Regions from separate parts of the Homo sapiens genome. Here all the other regions are linked to region 3. Evidence: promoter capture Hi-C in 16 types of primary human blood cells and fetal thymus (Javierre and others, 2016). All regions are on one chromosome and are shown on one strand. Each heading gives the region's core, a stretch centred on a gene start or on the middle of the fragment in contact. The rest is flanking DNA. Distances are from core to core; before and after follow the strand shown. Region 1 has its middle 4.9 kb from the start of TRR-TCT4-1. Region 2 has its middle 13 kb from the start of CADM3. Region 3 holds the start of CRP (C-reactive protein).

Evidence for each region. The method cuts DNA at HindIII sites, captures the fragments that hold promoters and counts their contacts. A CHiCAGO score of 5 or more calls a contact.
Region 1: a contact is called between a fragment that was not itself captured here and the fragment with the promoter of CRP in region 3, in 1 of 17 cell types (erythroblasts). The highest score is 5.3, in erythroblasts.
Region 2: a contact is called between a fragment that was not itself captured here and the fragment with the promoter of CRP in region 3, in 1 of 17 cell types (M2 macrophages). The highest score is 5.9, in M2 macrophages.

What each region holds. Positions count from the first base shown.
Region 1 is chr1:159,135,273-159,138,350 of GRCh38, reverse strand. It overlaps a transcript of AIM2 not described here. Among named protein-coding and RNA genes, the nearest start is that of TRR-TCT4-1, 4.9 kb to the left of the region's middle. The HindIII fragment of the contact is 4,258 bases long and covers 1-3,078 here.
Region 2 is chr1:159,157,289-159,160,517 of GRCh38, reverse strand. No RefSeq gene overlaps it. Among named protein-coding and RNA genes, the nearest start is that of CADM3, 13 kb to the left of the region's middle. The HindIII fragment of the contact is 2,208 bases long and covers 249-2,456 here.
Region 3 is chr1:159,712,748-159,716,042 of GRCh38, reverse strand. It overlaps CRP (C-reactive protein), which reads left to right and starts at 1,454. Exons shown (of 2, transcript NM_000567.3): 1 at 1,454-1,618; 2 at 1,905-3,295. The coding sequence starts at 1,558. The coding sequence ends at 2,518. The HindIII fragment of the contact is 4,063 bases long and covers 554-3,295 here.

The DNA of each region.
Region 1 (3,078 bases), core at 83-2,582, 580 kb after region 3:
GGGATGGGCATTTCAAACAGAGAAACAGCAAGAGCAGAGACTCTGATGTGGGCACCAGCCTGATTGGAAAGCTGACAGGTCAGTGTGGTGGAGTGGGAGGGAGTGATGGGAAGAGTTGGGATTAGAGTTTGATACAGGGCACACCATCTAGGACAATGTTCTCAACCCTATGACATCCAACTCTGCCTTGTTAGGTCCATTATTTCTTCAATTCTTCTCTACTAACCTGCAATGAAATTCATAGATAACATAACTTTCCCATGCCCATAATGAAAACTAATCAATATAATACCCTAATTGTAATGTAAGAGAGGAATAAAAAGAAATAAACTTATAATAAATAGTATACATTTTAGTACATAAATGCCATACCAGCACCCTTGCACCTATATGAAGACCCACCCTGAACGCAACAGCTACATATGCAGACCAGTGCAGGCATGCTGCACTGCTGACTTAAATCTCATGAGGGATGTCGTTCACCAGCAGCGTCCTGGTTTTCCAGACTGGTGAACACTTTTGGATACATTTTTGATCAAAGCAAAGTAAGTCTTCTTGCAAAATGCGCAGTACTTTGCATTCCTGGAAAATTTAGGAAGTTTTAAATCATGCAGAAAACTCTCTAACATATAAAAACAAGTTAGACTCTAAGCTCAGATACCAACACATAGGTTTTATTTTTGTTCGTTTGTTTGAGATGGAGTCTCGCTCTGTCACCCAGGCTGGAGTGCAGTGGCATGATCTCAGCTCACTGCAACCTCCACCTCCTGGGTTCAAGCCATTCTCCTGCCTCAGCCTCCTGAGTAGCTGGGAGTACAGACGCGCACCAACATGCCCGGCTAATTTTTGTATTTTTAGTAGAGATGGGGTTTCACCATGTTGGCCAGGCTGGTCTTGAACTCCTTAGATCAAGTGATCCACCCGCCTCAGCCTCCCAAAGTGCTGGGATTACAGGTGTGAGCCACCACGCCCAGCCCCAGCACGTAGGTTTTAATAGGTCATTCAGGAGTATACATCATGGGTCAATTCCTCTTTGTGAGAGATGCCCTTACACATTCTGGGACTCTTAAGTCCAGCATGCTCTTCCTCTCTACAGCTAACCGTGGCCCCCAATCATTATAACAACAAAAACTATTCCATCAAATTTTCAAACCACTTCTGAGGGGCAATTCTAGTGCCACTGGCAATCACTGACATAAGGCTTGGAGGTGAGGCTTTTCTAAATGTTAGTGAGCACCACTGATGAGTTTGAGTGGAGGTTCTGGTTTCTATGTTAAAAGGCAAATTTTATCTGTTGGTAGAGAACAGACAGAGATAGAATAGACAGGTAGAGAATAGAGTCAGATATGTAGGCAGGTTTAGAGGTCTCCTGGGCCCAAAGCCTTTAGAAGCAGCAAGCTGTGGCACGGTGATTCCCAAGCCGTAGTGCTGTACCACCAGAGGTGGAGGGTTTTGTAACAGTCCACCTACAAAAGTGATTTATCATCTCTGGAGAGCTTACCTGGCCGAGATCACTTATTTTTAAACTAGTTATTTTTATTTATTGTCATTACAATAGTTATTACCTAATGGTAAAAATGTTCATTTTGCTTATATGTAAAGCTGTAGCAAATAGACCTTATCCCAGAAAACATGATTGCAGTGTTTATGTCCTTAGTACTTGCTATAAATTATAATGGAATAGAATATCTTTGAACTATGTGCTCCTTGGAAGTTAGTTGGATCTCTTTGCTTCCATGGTGGTAATATTGTTCAGTGATGATTCTTTTGAGAGAATGAATGGTGAGAAATGGCGTATTATGATAAGGGAAGTTGATAACCATGAGCATAGTAGAAGCAGCAACTTCATGGTAATGACACAGATCTGAGTCTGAATCTGAGGTCTCGCTATTTACTTGTATGAATGTAGACATGCACTAAGTCTAAGTCCCTTGATTTTCTCATCTAGTAAATGATCTAACTAATACCTAGAATTAAATAGGGTAAGCTGTAAAATTGTCGAGGTAGATACATAGGAGGTGCAAACACAAATGCTAACCTCCTTGTTTGTAGTTATTCTTTCTAAACCTTCAGATTGTATGGATCAAGCTAGTTTCTTGGAGGCTGTGCGTGAGGACTTGAGAGATTTTATCTGTGGCCCATGTTTCTAACCATCTTCTTCTTCAAGCGGAGTCCTAGTGGAAGTCAAGACATGCATAATGTATTTTAAATAGTAGTTACCCTCCAAGAGTACGTTCTGCCCATAGTGATCACTGTAAAAGGCCTAGATTTTTCTCTAGGGCTACGAGCAGAGAAGTCCTACAACAATCCTCAGATTCTAGTCCCCGTGGAAAGGGTCGTGTTAGGACTTCTCTGCGTGGGGCAATGCCGGGCTTTAAAGCCTGGGATGAGGGCGAGTGTGTCTATTTTGAGAAGGCAGGTTGGTGTCTACAGAGATGGAATTAGACTAAAAACAAATGCCTGGGGAGCTGGGAAGAGACAGGAGACGAGGGCTTGGCTGTTGTATTCCAGGACAAATCTTTTTCTGGGTGAATTCCTTGCTGTGGACCCAGCTCAGTCCTGAATCTGAAGGGAGCATCTTCTGGCAATCACTAACAATTGCTGATAACTTGTCTTCCTTTGCTACATCTATAGACCACTTTTAAATAAGGAAATGGTACCATCCAAAATATCCGACTGCTTAGAACAAGTTATATTATTTTGAGGGAGCATGAAACTTAAAAAAATTTTCTATTATGTATAAACTTCTAACGGTGCTTTTTAAGGTTTGTGCTTAAGCATGTCTCTAATGGCTGAGGAGAGTGATGGCTTACTTCCAGGTTCAGGAAGCCGGGCCTCAAGTGGCCTGTACTAAGCACAGCATTTCTCTGAAGTCGTAGACTTTATGCTACATTCTAGATTTAGGGTTCTATTTCATTATGTCTGCATTTTTAAAATACAAAAATAATAATCTGGCTCCAAATATTAGAGTAAAAGTGATGCCTGGCATGCCCCACATATGGGATCCTGGCATGCATAAATTATAAAAGCACAGAACTATATTAATATTAAAAATGAGGGGTAGTCCCTGATTATCCA
Region 2 (3,229 bases), core at 103-2,602, 560 kb after region 3:
CATAAAAAGCTCTATTTTTCCCCCTGCAAACTCAAATCTGTTTAAGTTAATAAGGAAAAGTATACCTATTCTTGCCTTGTTAAAGGGTAATGATGGATCTTGGATAGACCCAGAATGTTAGCACTTCAAAGTGAGGATGTGTAGACAAAGAATATAACTGCTTTATCCCTTTCCTAATTGCATGGCATCTCTAGCACAGGGAATGAAGGATTATTTAGGATAGAATCAGTATACTGGTTTGAAAAGCTTTGTGGATGAAAAATAAGGGAAATCAATTTGATGAGATGGCTAGTTTAAACCAAATTTGGGAGGTGGGATTTGAAAACTAGACACTGAAGAGCTTTATCTTTATCCCAATGTCAGTTGGAAAAAAAATTGTAGCAGGACGTTATGTTGTTGAATTGGTATTTAAATATTAATTCTAAGATTCATTGTGGTAAAGATGGTAATTTTTAATTTATAAATTTGATGCAATACTATGCTAAATTCCAATAAGATATTTTATGGAACTTGACTAGCCTATTCTAACATTCCCTTGGAAGATAAAGTCAAGAGTAAATAGCCATAATTTTTTAAACACATGGGGCTAAGGGGGAGGATGATTTTCTAGCTATCCTAAGCAACTTTAAAATTATAGCAATTAAAACATGAAATCTTGGCACAGGAATACATAAATAGAACCATGGAGCAGAAGAGAGAGTGTAGTTACAAACCAACTTGGAAATTTAGTGTATGAAGAGTGCTACCTTCATTATATACTACACTTCTAATCAGTGACTAGAGGGTTGTACTGTTTAAAGACATTAGAATAATTGGTTATCTGTTTGTCAGTTGGTATGGGATAGGTTTAGCCTTTCCTTATGCCATATACGACAATATATTTCAGGTGGACTTGTGCTAAATTTTATAAACCAAACAACACTAAAAATGTTTGCAAAAACTGTCGAAAAATATACTTAATCTTAGAGTGGGAAAGACCTTCCTAAGCAAGACACAACACCTAGAGTCGATAAAGGAAAGGACCGATAAGATTTACTGCATAATTTTTAAAACTGATATAATTGCAGACCCATAGACAAAATGTAAAAGTAAGTCACAGACTGGGAAGATTTTATTTGCAATATATATGCCAAAGTATCAAAATTGCTAACATGCAAAATAGTCAGCAAATAAACATAAAAAAGACAAACAGTCCAAGAGAAAATTGGGCAAAGGATATGAGTATGAATTCTCAGAAAAAAAATACAGTTGTCTAATAAACATTTGAAAAGATGATCAACGGCATTTGGATTTTGAGAAATACAAGTTATAGCACCAAAGAGATCCTAGACTGTTAAAAAGCATCAAAGAACCCATCAGATTGTTAAAAAATTAAAATGATGGATAATACTCAGTGTTGGCAAGTGCTTAGGGAAATAGGCACCTTTATATATTGTTAGGGAGGATGTAAATTGGCACAGCCTTTTTGGAGATATTTTGGCAGAATGCATCAGAATTAAAAATAGAAATACCAGCAGTGCTATTTCTACAAATTATGCTATAGATCTGTTCACACATGAGTGCTCTGATTTATGTGCAGAGATATGCATCACATCATTTTTTTCCAGTAGTGAAAAATTGAAGACAACATAAATATTCATCAATAGTGAATTGGATAAATAGATTATGCTATATCATACTTTGTAATAACACATTGCAGTTAAAAAGAATGAGGTAAATTTATATCTACCAACATAGAAAGATACAGAAGGTATGTTGTTCAGTGAAAATACAAAGAAAATACACATACTGCTATCCCTTTTGTGTAAAATGGGAAAAAAGCATAAAACATATACATATGTGTATGTAAAATCTTATATGCATATAAATATGTGTTTAAGTAAATGAATAGTTACTTACTGGCTGTGTGACTTCAGGCAAGATACTTAACCGCCTCAGCATTTTTTTTCATTGTGTGGAAAATAGAGATAATTTTACATGACCCCTAGGGTGGTATGATGTGAAAATTAAATAAATTAATCTATTTAAATTGCTTTAAATAGCGCCTGGCACATAGTAGGCACTTGAGTGTTTCTATTGTTCAGATGCATATTAAACTTGGAAAATTATTTTCTGGGCCAGGAGTGAGACTTAAGTCATAAGGGGGACTATAATTGTCCATATTATATACTTCATATTTTTATAATGTGTGCCTATGTATTGAATGATTAATTTTTTTTAAATTAAATGCTTATTCTAAGAATATGAGTTAAAAGATGATTATAGAAATCCAGGAACAAAGTAAAAGAGTCCTGAGCAAGGGCAGTGGAATTGGGAATGGAAAAGAGGTGCTACGTTTGGTGTTGGTTATGGGAAGCAAGACAGAGGGAGAAGGCTGAGGCAGCTCTCAGTTTTGGCTTTTGAGTGACTTGGAAAATGCTGAACCATGAAAAGAAATAGTGGAATTAGGAGAAGCTTTTTGTGGGGTTTAGTATTTTGGAATGAAGGAGGATTAGTGTCTTACTTGAGGCTGCTAAAACAGAATACCATAAACTATGTGGCTTAAACAACAGACTTTGGTTTCTCACAGTTCTGGAGGCTGGGAAGTCCAAGATCAAGGTACTGGTGGATTTGATTCCTGTTGAGTGTCCTCTTCGTGGTTTGCAGACAGCCACCTTCTCAATGTGTCTTCACATGGTGGAAAAAGAGATTGTCTCCCTGTGTCTCTTCTTATAATGACACTAATTCCATTTATTAGAGTTCCACCTTCATGACCAAATCACCTCTCATAGGACTCACATCTAAATACATGAGGGATTAGAGTGTTAACATCTAAATTTGCAGGAGACATAATCAATTTGTAACAATTTTGTTAGATTACATTGAGTTTAAGCTGAGGGCAACCCATCAAGTAGGAAATATTGAATAGACTGGATATGAAAACTGGAGCTCTGGAGAAAGTTGAACGTTCTACCACTTTGAAGTAGACCAGCAGAAGAAGCCTAAAGTTCTCAGTGTCATTTTAAGAGTTCCCATCTAATACTTGCATTACAAAAATCAAGAACTGTGGTATTATAGGATGATATGTGTCTAGGAGGACAAAGACCTGTTCTAGTGGTTTTGATTGTTGATTCTTTTTCTTTGGTAAACATACATTGAACAACTACCATGTGCCAGGCACTGCCCAGACTATCAAGGGTAAAAAAACTCAAGTTTCTCTCTCTCTGGTAGGAACAGAGATTCACAAAAT
Region 3 (3,295 bases), core at 205-2,704:
CACTTGCTGGCCTGAAAGTGAACTATTCCATCTCCTGCTATCATGACTGAATACTAGTCAAAGGGAAAAAGGGGGAAGTGGGAGGGGAAAGCACATACCTTTCTTAAAGAGCACAACCTAGAGATGGTCCCTATTCTGTTCATATCTCGTTGGCCTTAATTTAATCACATCATCACTGCAAGCTACAGTGGGGGCTGGGAAATTTGGTGTTTGAGGGGATGACCAAGCGCCCAACTGAAAATGTTATTCTTCTCTTATGAGAAGTAGAGAATGGATGTTAGGGAATGGCTAGAAGACTCTACTACAAAGGATACGGTGGTTCTTTTCTGATTGCTTCTAACTTCTCAATGAAAGGTGAGTTCATCAGCTGAATGAAAGAATAAATGAGATTTTGGGGACTTGAGGAGCAAGGAGAAGGAGTATAATAGTCATTTTGAAGAGTGAGTTAAGTAGGGAACTGTAGTAAGATTGACAGACAGTGTGGAGGGATTACTTGAATCTTGTGAATAGAGGAAAGAGTAGAATCAGATTATCCTGACTCCTGCCTGAAGCTTTACATATTCAGAGAAAAATGTTGGAAGAAACTTTGATATAATGCTATGTCTGTGATCAGGCACACATTTTACTGGACTTTTACTGTCAGGGCCGTCATTTAGTGCCAAGATGTCTAGAGAGTTCTTAATAAGTGTACTCAATTGGCTGAGAAAATGTGTCCATGCAAAAAACCAAACACCGCGTGTTCTCACTCATAGATGGGAATTGAACAATGAGAATACTTGGACACAGGAAGGGGAACATCACACTCTGGGGACTGTTGTGGGGTGGGGGGAGGGGGGAGGGATAGCATTAGAAGATATACCTAATGCTAAATGATGAGTTAATGGGTGCAGCACACCAGCATGGCACATGTATACATATGTAACTAACCTGCACATTGTGCACATGTACCCTAAAACTTAAAGTATAATAATAATAAAAAAATGTGTCCATGGCTCTGGGAGGAGCATGTTTGTTTTCCTCATTTCCCAGTCTGTAAATAAGCAAATTGAAAGGGGTTAGTGATAATGTCCATCTCCAGAAGCTGTCAGATTTCCTTTGTCAAACTCTATGATTTGGGCTGAAGTAGGTGTTGGAGAGGCAGCTACCACGTGCACCCAGATGGCCACTCGTTTAATATGTTACCATTTCCCATTATTTTCGCAGGATAGATAGCCAAAGTGGAGCCCTGAGAGATTTCTTCATTTTTCCTGTCATAAAGAATTGGTAATTCAGTAGTCATAGGAGTTTGTAATAAATAACTCACATTGATTTCTCTGTTCTGAAATAATTTTGCTTCCCCTCTTCCCGAAGCTCTGACACCTGCCCCAACAAGCAATGTTGGAAAATTATTTACATAGTGGCGCAAACTCCCTTACTGCTTTGGATATAAATCCAGGCAGGAGGAGGTAGCTCTAAGGCAAGAGATCTAGGACTTCTAGCCCCTGAACTTTCAGCCGAATACATCTTTTCCAAAGGAGTGAATTCAGGCCCTTGTATCACTGGCAGCAGGACGTGACCATGGAGAAGCTGTTGTGTTTCTTGGTCTTGACCAGCCTCTCTCATGCTTTTGGCCAGACAGGTAAGGGCCACCCCAGGCTATGGGAGAGATTTGATCTGAGGTATGGGGGTGGGGTCTAAGACTGCATGAACAGTCTCAAAAAAAAAAAAAAAAGACTGTATGAACAGAACAGTGGAGCATCCTTCATGGTGTGTGTGTGTGTGTGTGTGTGTGTGTGTGTGTGTGTGGTGTGTAACTGGAGAAGGGGTCAGTCTGTTTCTCAATCTTAAATTCTATACGTAAGTGAGGGGATAGATCTGTGTGATCTGAGAAACCTCTCACATTTGCTTGTTTTTCTGGCTCACAGACATGTCGAGGAAGGCTTTTGTGTTTCCCAAAGAGTCGGATACTTCCTATGTATCCCTCAAAGCACCGTTAACGAAGCCTCTCAAAGCCTTCACTGTGTGCCTCCACTTCTACACGGAACTGTCCTCGACCCGTGGGTACAGTATTTTCTCGTATGCCACCAAGAGACAAGACAATGAGATTCTCATATTTTGGTCTAAGGATATAGGATACAGTTTTACAGTGGGTGGGTCTGAAATATTATTCGAGGTTCCTGAAGTCACAGTAGCTCCAGTACACATTTGTACAAGCTGGGAGTCCGCCTCAGGGATCGTGGAGTTCTGGGTAGATGGGAAGCCCAGGGTGAGGAAGAGTCTGAAGAAGGGATACACTGTGGGGGCAGAAGCAAGCATCATCTTGGGGCAGGAGCAGGATTCCTTCGGTGGGAACTTTGAAGGAAGCCAGTCCCTGGTGGGAGACATTGGAAATGTGAACATGTGGGACTTTGTGCTGTCACCAGATGAGATTAACACCATCTATCTTGGCGGGCCCTTCAGTCCTAATGTCCTGAACTGGCGGGCACTGAAGTATGAAGTGCAAGGCGAAGTGTTCACCAAACCCCAGCTGTGGCCCTGAGGCCCAGCTGTGGGTCCTGAAGGTACCTCCCGGTTTTTTACACCGCATGGGCCCCACGTCTCTGTCTCTGGTACCTCCCGCTTTTTTACACTGCATGGTTCCCACGTCTCTGTCTCTGGGCCTTTGTTCCCCTATATGCATTGCAGGCCTGCTCCACCCTCCTCAGCGCCTGAGAATGGAGGTAAAGTGTCTGGTCTGGGAGCTCGTTAACTATGCTGGGAAACGGTCCAAAAGAATCAGAATTTGAGGTGTTTTGTTTTCATTTTTATTTCAAGTTGGACAGATCTTGGAGATAATTTCTTACCTCACATAGATGAGAAAACTAACACCCAGAAAGGAGAAATGATGTTATAAAAAACTCATAAGGCAAGAGCTGAGAAGGAAGCGCTGATCTTCTATTTAATTCCCCACCCATGACCCCCAGAAAGCAGGAGGGCATTGCCCACATTCACAGGGCTCTTCAGTCTCAGAATCAGGACACTGGCCAGGTGTCTGGTTTGGGTCCAGAGTGCTCATCATCATGTCATAGAACTGCTGGGCCCAGGTCTCCTGAAATGGGAAGCCCAGCAATACCACGCAGTCCCTCCACTTTCTCAAAGCACACTGGAAAGGCCATTAGAATTGCCCCAGCAGAGCAGATCTGCTTTTTTTCCAGAGCAAAATGAAGCACTAGGTATAAATATGTTGTTACTGCCAAGAACTTAAATGACTGGTTTTTGTTTGCTTGCAGTGCTTTCTTAATTTTATGGCTCTTCTGGGAAACTCCTCCCCTTTTCC